Regions from separate parts of the Homo sapiens genome. Here all the other regions are linked to region 1. Evidence: promoter capture Hi-C in human tissues and cell types (Jung and others, 2019). All regions are on one chromosome and are shown on one strand. The core of a region is centred on a gene start or on the middle of the fragment in contact, and the rest is flanking DNA. Distances in the headings are between cores, read along the strand shown. Region 1 overlaps ZSCAN5A (zinc finger and SCAN domain containing 5A). Region 2 holds the start of GALP (galanin like peptide). Region 3 holds the start of ZSCAN5B (zinc finger and SCAN domain containing 5B).

Region 1 (4,238 bases), core at 1,213-3,712:
GGCAGCCTGGCTTCCCAACCCCCAAGGAGTCCCAAGCCACTGACTAGGTCCTAGAATAGACAACCCATGTCCTGGGCTCTGGCTGGCTCTCCAGTCAGTTCCTTCACATCTATCCTAGATAGAGGAGCCCTTGGAGTCTTCTGTCCCCCACTAAACAGATAAGGGAGCAATGGGTCAGAAGTTTCAGGGATTTTTCCCAGAAGGGACCTGAAAAGTGTCATCGGATTTAGCCAGGCTCTGAAATCATAGAGGTGCGGGATCAAACCTCAGCTCCCTCCACCTCCTGGCTGTGTGCACTAGGACAAGGATTTCTTTTCTTTGGACCTCAGTTTCTCAGGGAGTAAAAATGGAGGTGTCATAGCAACAGTCGATACTTTTTCTAGCACTGACTACATCCCAGATGCTCTTCTAAGAGCCTTTGCCTATAATAACTCCTACAACACTATGAGATGGGAACTGTTATTAGCGTCATTTTATAGATGAAAAAAGTGAGATCTAAAAGCATAAGGTCCACTCAGAATCACACCACTAGTAATTGGCAGGACTGGGATTCGAAGCTAAGTATATGAATCTGCAGTGAATGCTCTAAACCAGCCCTGTCCAGTAGAACTTTCTGCAGTGATAGGAATGTCCTGTATCCGTGCTACCCAGAATGGTGGCCACTAGCCACGTGCGGCTGCTGAGCACTTGAGGTGACGCTAATGCAACTAAGGAAATGAAGTTTTCATTTTATTTCATTATGAAGCATGTAAATCTAAATAGCTACGTGGTAAATCTAAATAGCTACATATATTGGACAGTGCTGCTCTAAATCATGATACTAAGCGCCTCTCAGCCTTAATAGACTATATACCTAACAGGGTTGCTATGACAGTTCTGACAGAGCCATATGTGTAAAAGCACCCTCTGTGAACCAAGCAGTCTCGGTGTTGGGGATGCACTTTCTCTAACCCTGTGGAGTTTATAGTCTGGTGTAGGAAGACAAACAACAATATTGACAAACACATATATAATTTCATGTACTGGTCATTGCTGCAAAGAAACTGAAATAGGGCCATGTGTTAGAGACCGATGGGGTTGAGATGCTGCCGTAGCTAGAGTTGTCAGGAGAGACCTCACTGAGATGGTCACATTTGAGTTTAGATCCTAATGAAGATCTGGGGTAAGAGTAGCTTAGACAGAGGGAACAGCTTGTGCAAAGACCCCGAGGCAGAAAAAAGCAGAAGGAATTTGACACGCAGAAAGAAGATCATTGTGGATGGAGCAGGGTAAGCTCATGGGAATGTGGAGGGAGGAGAGGTTAGAGTGGTAGGCAGGGGCCAGATTGTCAACAAACCTGAGTGGGCTCCGCCGTGAGAATGATAGTAAGCACAAACCAGGAACATTCCTCTTTGTCTGCTTTCCCTGGGCCCTCTTACACCCACTTGGTTCTCTATTAAATATGGGCATCTCCGGCCAGGCACCGTGGCTCACGCCTGTAATCCCAGCACTTTGGGAGGCCAAGGCAGGTGGATCACGAGGTCAGGAGATCGAGACCATCCTGGGTAACATGGTGAAACCCCGTCTCTACTAAAATTACAAAAAATTAGCCGGGCATGGTGGCAGGTGCCTGTAGTCCTAGCTACTCGGGAGGCTGAGGCAGAAGAATTGCTTGAACCAGGCACCGAGATCGCGCCACTGCTCTCCAGCCTCAGTGACAGAGTGAGACTCCATCTCAAAAAAAAAAAAAAAAAAAAAAGTGGGGGCATCTCCCAAGCAGAAAGCAAAGCCTAAGCCTACTCACTTCTTTGGGGAGAGAGGAAGAAAGTCTTGGACAGTAATTGAGCATCCTCTTTGGGCACCTGCCCCAACAACTTCACACACATTATCATCTCATTTAACTGAGGTTGGATCTGCAAAGGCAGCTTGGCTTGGCAGAAAGAGCGGGAGCTTTGGAATGAGGGCCTAGATCTCACCGTGGGCTCTATCACTTGGTGCTATTTTTAGCAAGCATGCAGTAATAATCATAATACTCTCAGCAGTTAAGCTTAATTGGGTGATTATGATGTGCCAGACGTGGTTCTAAGCACTTCATATCTATTAGCTCATAATTTTAAGAGCTGGGTAGTATTATAATTTCTCTTTGCAAATGAGATAACTTTGCCCAAAGTCAACAAAGCCAATAATTGGAAGAGGTAGGATTTGAATCTATACAGGTATGATTGACATTTGTGAACTTGTTTAGCTGCTAAGTCTCTATACCCTGATTTCCTTTGGAAGAATTACCTCTGCTCCACTGTATGTGGTCCTGGTGGGATAGTTAATGCACGTGCCCATTTTCTCATAATGAAAAGCAAGCAGGGTCCCTCAAAGCTCCTTGCACCAGATCCTTATTTTTACACTAAAGCCAACCAACCTTTGTCCTAAGCCAGGCTAATCAGACTGCTTACCTGGCACTTTAAATCTCGAATTGAGTAAAGCAAGAGTGGAAGAAGCAGATTTAATGCTTTTCAGGTGAGAGTGTTGAGTGGCTCATGATACAGAAATCTCTTGGTTTCCCAGGCTTCACTCTTTCCCAAACCCACTCTCCAGCCTTCACTTTAATCCTTTGAACTCCACCCCTTTGCCAGTTCCTTCCAGTGATTTCTCTTTTAAGCTAGCCAAAGTCCGTTTCTGCCACTGGAACCCAAAAAACCTGCTTGATTCAAGAAGTTCAGCTCTGTTTGTGTTCTAAGGCAACCTCTGGCTGCTGTCCTTCTGTACATAGTCTTCCTTCCATTGGATCTCTCAAAGAGAAAGCTCACTTCCTCAGTTTACTTTCCACCAGCTTTAAGTTTCAAGCCTTACTGCTTGCTTACAGCTTTAACCACTTACATAGAGTATAGGTGCATACTAGATGCTCAATTAATATTTGTTGAAATGGTATTCAAGGTGAAAGATTGAGAAGTGAAGATGGTTTGGAATTGTGTTGTTGATGCCTTTATCATGGGAGTGCCCTGTGCTAGGATGGATCTGAGAATGGTTTTTTTGTAATTCTGAAATAAGCCCATGTGTCTCCCCTACTCCAAATCCTTCCATGGCTCAACATTACATACAGGATAAGCATTTATTTAATTTATTTATTTATTTTTGAGATGGAGTCTCACTCTGTCACCCGGGCTGGAGTGCAGTGGTGTGATCTCAGCTCACTGCAACCTCCGCCTCCCAGGTTCAAGCAGTTCTCCTGCCTCAGCCTCCCGAGTAGCTGGGATTACAGGCGCCTGCCACCACACCTGGCTAATTTTTGTATTTGTAGTAGATACGGGGTTTCACCATGTCTGCCAGGCTGGCCTTGAACTCTTGACCTCAAGTGATCCACCTGCCTCGGCCTCCCAAAGTGCTGGGATTACAGGCATGAGCCACCGCGCCCAGCCCTAGGATAGCATTTATGACTAAAAGCTTTAGTGTGACCTAGATCAAGAGTAGGAAAACTTTTTCTGTCAAGAGCAAGATAGTAACTATTTTTGTCTTTGTTAGCCATATGGTCCCTGTCGCAATTACTCAACTTTGCCACTGTAGTGAGAAAGCCACCAGAGACAATACATAAGCAAGGGGAGCTAGCTATGTTCCAATAGAACTTTATTTATAAAAACAAATGGTCAACTATAGTTTGCCAGCCTCTGATACAGACTCTTCATACTTCATAGTCCAGTCTCCCAACACTTCCTCATCTTACCTTGATTTCTACTAAATGAAACTTTGACTTCAGGATTCAGATCTGATGTCACTTCCATAACACATCTTTCTTGGAATGTACTGCATCATTCCTGGAAGATGGAAGATCTCAGTTAATAGGAAGACCTGAACAAACAGGTCATTTTCTGTAGTGGAATGAGCATGAGCTTGAGAGTCAGATCCAGGTGTAAATCCCAATCCTGCTACTCCCTTACCCTGAGATAGTGTCCAAAAAGTCTTTCTTGGGCTGGGTGTGCTGGCTCATGCCTGTAATCCCAACACTGGCAGGTTGAGGCAGGTGGATCACTTGAGGTCAGGAGTTCGAGACCAGCCTGGCCAACATGGTGAAACCCCATCTCTACTAAAAATACAAAAAATTAAGCTGGGTGAGGTGGCGGGTGCCTGCAATCCCAGCTACTCAGGAGGCTGAGGCAGGAGAGTTGCTTGAACCTGGGAGGCGGAGGTTGCAGTGAGCCAAGATAGTGCTGTTGCAGTGAGCCAAGATCATGCCATTGCACTCCAGCATGGGTGACAGAACGAGATTC
Region 2 (4,238 bases), core at 618-3,117, 90 kb after region 1:
TGGCTAAATAATGAGAGCTGCCTGCCATCCGAGTTAACTGTTAACTCTCACAGTGCTGGAATTGGACAAAGAAGATCCACTCAGAGACCAGAGAGGTTAGGCAATGTGACTGAAGTCACACAGCTAGAAAGTCGCAGATCCCGGATTTCAAACTCAACCCAGCCTCTACAGCCCATGCTGTGGAGGTGTGTGATCAAAGGTTTTCAAAGTGTCGTCCCAGACTGGGTGCCGTGGCTGACACCTGTGATCCCAGTACTTTGGGAGGCCAAGGCGGGTGGATCACTTGAAGCCAGGAGGTCAGGAGTTCAAGACCAGCCTAGCCAACATGGTGAAACCCCATTTCTTCTTTTTTTTTTTTTTTTTTGAGATGGAGTCTCGCTCTGTCACCCAGGCTGGAGTGCAGTGGCACAATCTCGGCTCGCTGCAACCTCCGCCTGCCAGGTTCAAGCGATTCTCCTGCCTCAGCCTCCTGAGTAGCTGGGACTACAGGCACGTGCCACCATGCCCGGCTAATTTTTGTGTTTTTAGTAGAGACACGCAATATTTCTTCTCATATTTTCAGGATTTGAGCTTCTTCCCCAGGACCCTTGACACAAGCCAGAAGCATTTTTAAAAACTCTTCCCAGAGGGCAGGGATTTGGGGACACTGTTGTTTCCGAGGAACTTAGGGAGGCGTTACCCGGTGGGCAGGTGCGGATGCTGGAGTCTCTGCCAGGCTCAGCAAGAGGACGAGGAGGAGGACCAGGGGGACGGAGGGAGGAGCCATCGAAGGCAGGACGACAGGTGCCTACAGCTGCGGAACACGCTGCAAGGAGAGAGCGGCCAGTCATTTTCCGAAGCGGGGGCCAGGTGCATTTCCGATAAGGACAGAGGAATTTATTTTTTAGCTTTATGGAGGCATCATCGAGATACAAAAATGGCGCACATTTAATGTACACATCTTGAGGAGTTTGGACGTGTGCAAGCAATTAAGCCTCTCCTTCCCCCATCATCGGATCAGGCCGACCTGGTCCCCCAGCGCCCATGCCTTCTGCCCCACTGCCTCCACCACTCCATCTTCAAACCTTTCCGTCCCCTTACCTGCCCCTCACCTTTTCCCTGCCACCAATGCTGGGGTTTCTCCTGTTATCCCCATCCCTTCAAGCCCCCCATCACTCTCCCAGGAGCCCCTCACTCCCTCCACCCCTCTGCCCTCCTGGCCTAGGCTCTCACCCCAGTGCAGCTTGGATCCACCCCTCTGCCCTCCTGGCCTAGGCTCTCACCCCGGTGCAGCTGGCATCCACCCCTCTGCCCTCCTGGCCTAGGCTCTCACCCCGCTGCAGCTGGCATCCGCCCCTCTGCCCTCCTGGCCTAGGCTCTCACCCCCGTGCAGCTGGGATCCGCCCCTCTGCCCTCCTGGCCTAGGCTCTCACCCCGCTGCAGCTGGCATCCGCCCCTCTGCCCTCCTGGCCTAGGCTCTCACCCCGGTGCAGCTGGGATCCGCCCCTCTGCCCTCCTGGCCTAGGCTCTCACCCCGGTGCAGCTGGGATCCGCCCCTCTGCCCTCCTGGCCTAGGCTCTCACCCCGGTGCAGCTGGGATCCGCCCCTCTGCCCTCCTGGCCTAGGCTCTCACCCCGCTGCAGCTGGCATCCGCCCCTGTGCCCTCCTGGCCTAGGCTCTCACCCCGCTGCAGCTGGCATCCGCCCCTCTGCCCTCCTGGCCTAGGCTCTCACCCCGCTGCAGCTGGCAGCCGACCCTGTGCCCTCCTGGCCTAGGCTCTCACCCCGGTGCAGCTGGGATCCGCCCCTCTGCCCTCCTGGCCTAGGCTCTCACCCCGCTGCAGCTGGCAGCTCTCCGCAGCTCTCTCTGGCTCCTCGCTCCAGCGCCTGGACTCTTTCACGCCCCCTGAGCTTTTATGCCTTCTGAGGAGACAATAGAAGGGAGGGGGGAAAGGGAGGGGATTAGAAGAAGGGAGAGGGAGTGAAGAGGATGGAGGTGGGGGAACAGTCATCCACTCCAGGGGCTTTCAAACGCTGGTCTGTGAGGTCAAAACACACACTTCATCGCGGGAAATGCTGCTGTGCCTTGGTTTCCCCTGGTAGACCCTGCCCTTCCCCCTCCTTCTGTGCCCCTTTATCTTCCAGCTGTCCTGTTCCAGACTTTGCAGCTATTCGAGGGCTCCCTCCCTCCCTCTTATCTGCGTCTGGGCCTTGACCTGTGTCTTCCTTGGTTGTCTCCACCTGCCACTGGTGTCTCCGTAGCCCTGTCCCCTCTGCCCCCATCAATCCCTCCAAGCCTCCGCAGCTCCCTCACTGAGTTGCATTTCTTCTGTCTTGCACGGTAGACCCTGTTTATTTGTTTACTTGTGAGCTGTCTATCTCCCCGCCCCCCACCTACCACCCTGGCTAAAGGAGACCCCATGAGGGGTGTCAACTGTGTCTTGTTCATGGCTGCGTCCCTAGGCCGGAAGCTCTCAACCAGGAGTGACTCTGCCCCGATGCTGCCCCAGCCTCACCCCAGGACATGTGACCAAGTCTGGAGACAGTTTTGTTTGTTCGTTTTTTTTGTTTTTGTTTTGAGACGGAGTCTCGCACTGTCGCCCAGGCTGGAGTGCAGTGCTGTGATCTCGGCTCACTACAAGCTGTGCCTCCCGGGTTCACGCCATTCTCCTGCCTCAGCCTCCCGAGTAGCTGGGACGACAGGCGCCCGCCACCACGCCCGGCTAATTTTTTGTATTTTTAGTAGAGACAGACGGAGTTTTACTATGTTGGCCAGGCTAGTCTTGAACTCCTGACCTCGTGATCTTCCCGCCTCAGCCTCTCAAAGTGCTGGGATTACAGGCGTGAGCCACCGCGCCCGGCTGGAGACATCTTTACTTGGGACTTGGGAGGGACTCCCGGCATCTCGTGGGTGGAAGCCAGGGACGCGGCTCAGCCTCCCACAGTGCTCAGGAAAGGCCTCCCCGATGGGAAGGACCCAGCCCCGAAAGTCAATAGCTCCAAAGATGAGAAACCTCACAGCAGCCCCTAAAACAGTGCCCGGAGCTCACTCAATACTTGTTGGGTGAACGAATAAGGAGTGTGTCGTTGCTGCGTCTCTCTCCTGTCATGTGTGTTGATCTATCTGTCTCTGCAGCACGCTCTCTCTTTGCCCTGACGTCACCTGCTTTCCAGAGGAAAGAACCTTGGAAGAGGTTTTACTCTTGCTGTTGCCCTTTGCTGTCTAAGGGACAGAGGGGACGCCCTGGTCCTGGCTGGGTTCTGTCTCCTCCTCTCCACCGTGGAGGACACATTGCCTCCAAGGTCCTTCCAGCATTCTGTCGGTTTGTGGCTGGCACTTGTATCTCTGTCCTGTCTTTACACATCCCCATCAGCCCTTACCCCATCCTTTCTCATCCCAAGGGGAAAGGGAGACCCCAGGAGAGGGATGGAGTGAGAAGACGACGTGGGGGATTACAGACACCCTGGTGGGCTCCTGAGCCCCCTCCGCTGTTTCTCCAAGTCCCTCACTTCTCATCCAGAGGATGACAACAACGAGGAGGAGGAGGAGGAGGAGGAGGAGGAGTGGGCAGGGGAGGAGGAGGAGGGGGAAGCTTTTATAGAAGACAAACTGACAAGAAGGTGTGAATGGCTTTGCTGGGAAGGAGAAAGGAGGAGGGAGTGACGCCCACTGCACGGGAGACAGGACTGAGGAGGCGACGCTGAGAGCTTGAAGCTGGGTTACCTGGAGCCCAATGGAGGGTCAGAGAAACAGTGGGAAGTCCTTGCCTCACTGCCCATTAGCTAGTTTGTGAAAAGTAAACGGGGTAGGTCCAAAGCTTGCTCTATCTCTCTTACACACACACACACACACACACACACACACACACACGCAAAACTCAAATGTGGTGCAAGAAATGTCACAATGTCACTTTCTTCTCATTTCTTTCTTTTTTTTTTTTTTATTGAGATGGAGTCTCACTCCGTCACCCAGGCTGGAGTGCAGTGGCACAATCTCTTGTCACTGTAGCCTCCACCTCCTGGGTTCAAGCAATACTCCTGCCTCAGCCTCCCCAGTAGCTAGGACTACAGGTGTGTGCCACCAAGCCTGGCTAATTTTGTATTTTTAGTAGAGATGGGGTTTCACCATGTTGTTCAGACTGGTCTCGAATTCCTGACCTCAGGTGATTTGCCCTCCTCGGCCTCCCAAAATGCTGGTATTACAGGTGTGAGCCACCTCACCCGGCCATCTTTCTTCTCATTTCTGTAACTGAGTCTGTG
Region 3 (4,238 bases), core at 929-3,428, 68 kb after region 1:
TCACAATATATACCTGTTTCCAAACTTCAGCCTGGTGACCTTCGTTAATAATAATGTGTTGGGAAAGTCTCAACCAGAGCAACGAACAAAGGGCATCCAAATTCAGAAGGAGGAAGTCGAATTGTCTCTCTTTGCCAACAACATGATGTCATCTATAAGAATCCCTGAAACCTCCACCAGTAAAACTCTTAGAATTGATAAACCAATTCAGTAAGGTGGCCAGATACTAAGTCGATATGCAAAAATCAGTAGTGTTTTTATACACCAACAACGAACTAGTGGCAAGAAAAAAATCAAGAAAGCAATCTCATTTACAAGAGCAAAAGACACCCCAAAACCCTGGAAGTAAATTTAACTAAGGAGGTGAAAGATTTCCACAAGGAAAACTGTTAAACACTAATGAAAAATATTAAAGCGGACCCCAGAAAATGGGAAGACATGTTCGTAGGGGGAAGAATCAACATTGTGAAAAAGACCATACTATTAATAGACATCTACAGATTCAATGCGATCCCTACCAAAATACCAACAACATACTTCACAGAAATAGACTGTGAGTTTCCAGAGGGGAGGATTCGGGGGAAGCAGATAGGAAGATGGTGGTTTAGGCAGCTCCCAGTTAATTCCAGTGAATAATTCCTTTTTTTTTTTTTTGAGACGCTGTCTCGGTCTGTCGCCCAGGCTGGAGTGCAGTGGTGTGATCTCCGCTCACTGCAAGTTTCGCCTCCCGGGTTCATGCCATTCTCCTGTCTCAGCCTCCCGAGTAGCTGGGACTACAGGCACCTGCCACCACGCCTGGCTACTTTTTTGTATTTTTCGTAGAGACGGGGTTTCACCGTGTTAGCCAGGGTGGTCTCGATCTCCTGACCTCGTGATCCGCCCGCCTCGGCCTCCCAAAGTGCTGGGATTACAGGCGTGAGCCTCCGCGCCCGGCCATTAATTCCATTCTTAACTCCAACCCATTGTCAACACCTCAGTGGTTAAGAAGGGAAAATATCACAAAGTATGAGAAAATGCACCAGAAAATAATTGTCACAACTGTTTGGCAAAATGACCTTGTATCGAGCACTTTATTGACCCAGTCTTATTGCATCTTCAAAACAACACATCAGGAAGGTTCTAGTCACAAGAAGTTTGAAGTTCCCAGAGTGAAGCGGCTTAAGATTTTCCAAGGATTTAAACCAGAATCAGTGTAAAATTAACAGCCCTCCAATTTGTCCTAAAGGTTAGACGAGAAGGTTTCCTCTGAAATTAAAATGAATGAGTCACTACTTGAATGGATTAGTGTCATCCAACTGATGGTGTGAACTTCCCAAATTGTAATCTAATCCTGCCTAGCACTTAATTATCATTCCACATTAACTCCATGATCCACACAGTAAAATTCACACCCACCGTTAAGGCTTTTCTTGCTTGAGAGCCCTAACTGAGGGGGCTGAGAACTAGGGAACCCCGTAGGACCCTCAGTGTATCTATAAACCACCCTATCACCGTCCTGGAATGAATGCAGAGTGGGGACCATGTGCCTTTCTCTGGTTCCCACTGCTTTTATATAAGGCTGATATCAAATCAGTGATTTAGTTTAGTTTGAACAAAGCTTTCACATGCCAATTCCAAGATTTTGAAAAAAATAAAAAAGTAAAAAATTATCACAAACATTCATTACATATCAACGAGTGTCCACAATTTTCAACATCTTGGAATTCGCGTGTGAAAGCTTCGCTCAAATGAGATTAAAAATGAGATTAAATCACTGGTTTGATATTAATCAACCAACTCTATTTTGAATTTTTCTTTTTTTTTTCTTTTTCCGTTTTGTTTTAATAAGCGAAGTCAACCAGCTCTTAACACGTCCTTTACTTGTTAGGATATTACTGTCTGTGGCATGAGGGGACCCAAAGTGGTTAAAACTTGCAGATCTATATTTTCTGAGGCCTCCACATACTTCAGCAATATGACAACTCAGTAGAGCGGGAAAACCTGTATTATTTGCACAGTAGGCACGTTTAATACATTAATTTCCTGTGGGTGGGGTTTCAGTGGGAAATGTAATCAACGCCGATTACGAAAATGGACTCTGTGGCCCTAAACCAATCACGGCGCGGCGCAGGGAACCGGAAACGCGGCCTGGAGTCCCGCTTCTCCATAAATAGACGCAGTTCAGCTCCAGGCCGGTTGGAGAGCGCATCCCAGACCGAGAAGGTCGGAGGCAGAAGCCGGGAAGGAGGTGAGTGTCCAGCGGCGATGGCTGTGGGGTTTCGGAGCTGGCATGCGGGGGGTTGGTTTCAGAAAGTTTGGGTTTATTTTCTCATGCATTTATTTTCTCGGAGACTTTGTGAAGGCAGCGGGTCTCCTTTGCACCCCATGATTAACTCTGACTGGCGATGAAGTGCTTCTGTAAACTAGGAATAATATTAACTTTCTCGGTCGGGCCCAGTGGCGCACGCCTGTAATCCCAGCTACTCTGGAGGCCGAGGTGGGCAGATCACGGGATCAGGAGTTCAAGACCAGTCTGACCAACATGGTGAAACCCCGACTCTAACAAAAATACAAAAATTAGCCGGGCGTGGTGGCGGGCGCCCGTAATACCCGCTATTCAGGAGACTGAGTCAGGAGAGTCGTTTGAACCCAGGAGGCAGAGGTTAGGGTAATACCCGCTATTCGGGAGACTGAGTCAGGAGAGTCATTTGAACCCAGGAGGCAGAGGTTGCAGTGAGCCGAGGTCGCGCCATTGCACTCCAGCCTGGGTAACAAAGCAAAACTCCGTCTCAAAAAAAAAAAAAGGAGAAAAATAAAGTAATAATGTTAACTTTCTCATCATGGTTAGGTTTTGTTTCATTTTATTTTTCAGAGACGGGGTCTCGCTCATTTCCCAGGCTGGCCTGGAACTCCCAGGCTCAAGCTATGTGCCCTCCTCGGCCTCCACCTAGCTGGGGCTGCAGGAGCACACCACCACACCGCCCGAGTGCATTTTTTTATTTACTATAGAGACGTGGTCTCGCTGCTTTGCCCAGTCTGGTCTCGAACTCCTCGGCTCAAGCAATCTGCCCGCCTCAGCCTCGATCTCCGCTTTCTGAGCAGGGGCGCTTAGGGAACCTGGCGGGAAAACCTCTTTAATTCCCAGAATTTCAGGCTGCCTTTTCTCATATCTGTATGCTTTTAAAAAATGTATCGATTTACTTAATAAATAAACAAAACGAGATGGCCGCTGGATGTGTCTCCCAGGCTGGAGCACAGTGGCACAATCGCGGTTCACTGCTGGGCTGAAGTGATCCTGCCACCTCCGCCTCCCAGAGCACTGGGGTGACAGGAGTGAGCCATCGCACCAGGCCTAATTTACTTTCAAATTGAGAAATATAAATATATAATGGTGTATATGTCCGGTGCACAGCATAGTGTGTCAAGGTGTGTACGCATTGTGCAACGGCTAAATCGAGCAAACTGCCATAGGCTCTACCTCACTGTCTTATCATTTTTGGACAACACTTGAAATCGACTCCCTTAGCAATTTCCAAGTATACGGTACATTGCTGTGAACTATAGTCACCATGCTGTGCAGTAGACCTATTTAACTTTATTTCTTTTATTTTTTTAAAAAAAAGTTTTAATGGCCAGGTGCGGTGGCTCACACCTGTAATCCCAGCACTCTGGGAGGCCGAGGCATAGGGATCACTTGAGTTCAGGAGTTTGAGACCAGCCTGGCCTACATGGCGAGACCCCATCTCTACTAAAAATACAAAATTTAGCCGAGAGGGGTGGCTCACGCCTATAATCCCAGCTACTCGGGAGGCTGAGGCAGGAGAATCGCTTGAACCCGGGAGGCAGAGGTGGCAGTGAGCCCAGATCGGCCACTGCACTGCAGCCTGGGGGATAGAGTGAGATTCTGTCTCAAAAAATAAATCAATAAAACGAAATAAAAATAAAAATAATTTTAAGTAGGCCAGGTATAGTGGCTCACACGTAATCCCAGAATTTTGGGAAGCAGAGGCAGGAGGATCACTTGGACCCAAGAAGTCAAGGCTGCAGCAAGCCAGGATGCACCACTGCATTCCAGCCTGGGTGACAGAGCAAGACACTGCTGCAAGTTTAAAAACAAAAATAGATAACTTTAAAAAAAAATTCCACTTTTATTTTAGGTTCGGTGGGTGCCTGTGCAGATTTGTTACGTGAGTGTACTGAGTGATGCTGAGGTTTTGGGTATCACTGAACCTGTCACCCAGGATATGAGGATAGTACCC

Evidence for each region. The method cuts DNA at HindIII sites, captures the fragments that hold promoters and counts their contacts. A contact is called where the count stands out against the background at its distance.
Region 2: a contact is called between the fragment with the promoter of GALP here and a fragment that was not itself captured in region 1, in 2 of the 25 tissues and cell types used here (H1 embryonic stem cells and heart left ventricle).
Region 3: the fragment with the promoter of ZSCAN5B here is called in contact with a fragment that was not itself captured in region 1 in 2 of the 25 tissues and cell types used here (H1 embryonic stem cells and liver).

Annotation. Positions count from the first base shown.
Region 1 is chr19:56,263,994-56,268,231 of GRCh38, reverse strand. The region is part of intron 2 of ZSCAN5A (zinc finger and SCAN domain containing 5A); the gene reads left to right. Among named protein-coding and RNA genes, the nearest start is that of EDDM13, 6.6 kb to the left of the region's middle. The HindIII fragment of the contact is 5,945 bases long and covers 1-4,238 here.
Region 2 is chr19:56,173,637-56,177,874 of GRCh38, reverse strand. It overlaps GALP (galanin like peptide), which reads right to left and starts at 1,867. Exons shown (of 6, transcript NM_033106.4): 1 at 1,813-1,867; 2 at 680-805. The coding sequence starts at 766. RefSeq lists enhancers at 1,631-2,181, 2,182-2,732. The HindIII fragment of the contact is 7,717 bases long and covers 1-4,194 here.
Region 3 is chr19:56,195,723-56,199,960 of GRCh38, reverse strand. ZSCAN5B (zinc finger and SCAN domain containing 5B) reads left to right here and starts at 2,178. Exons shown (of 5, transcript NM_001080456.5): 1 at 2,178-2,227. The HindIII fragment of the contact is 13,117 bases long and covers 1-4,238 here.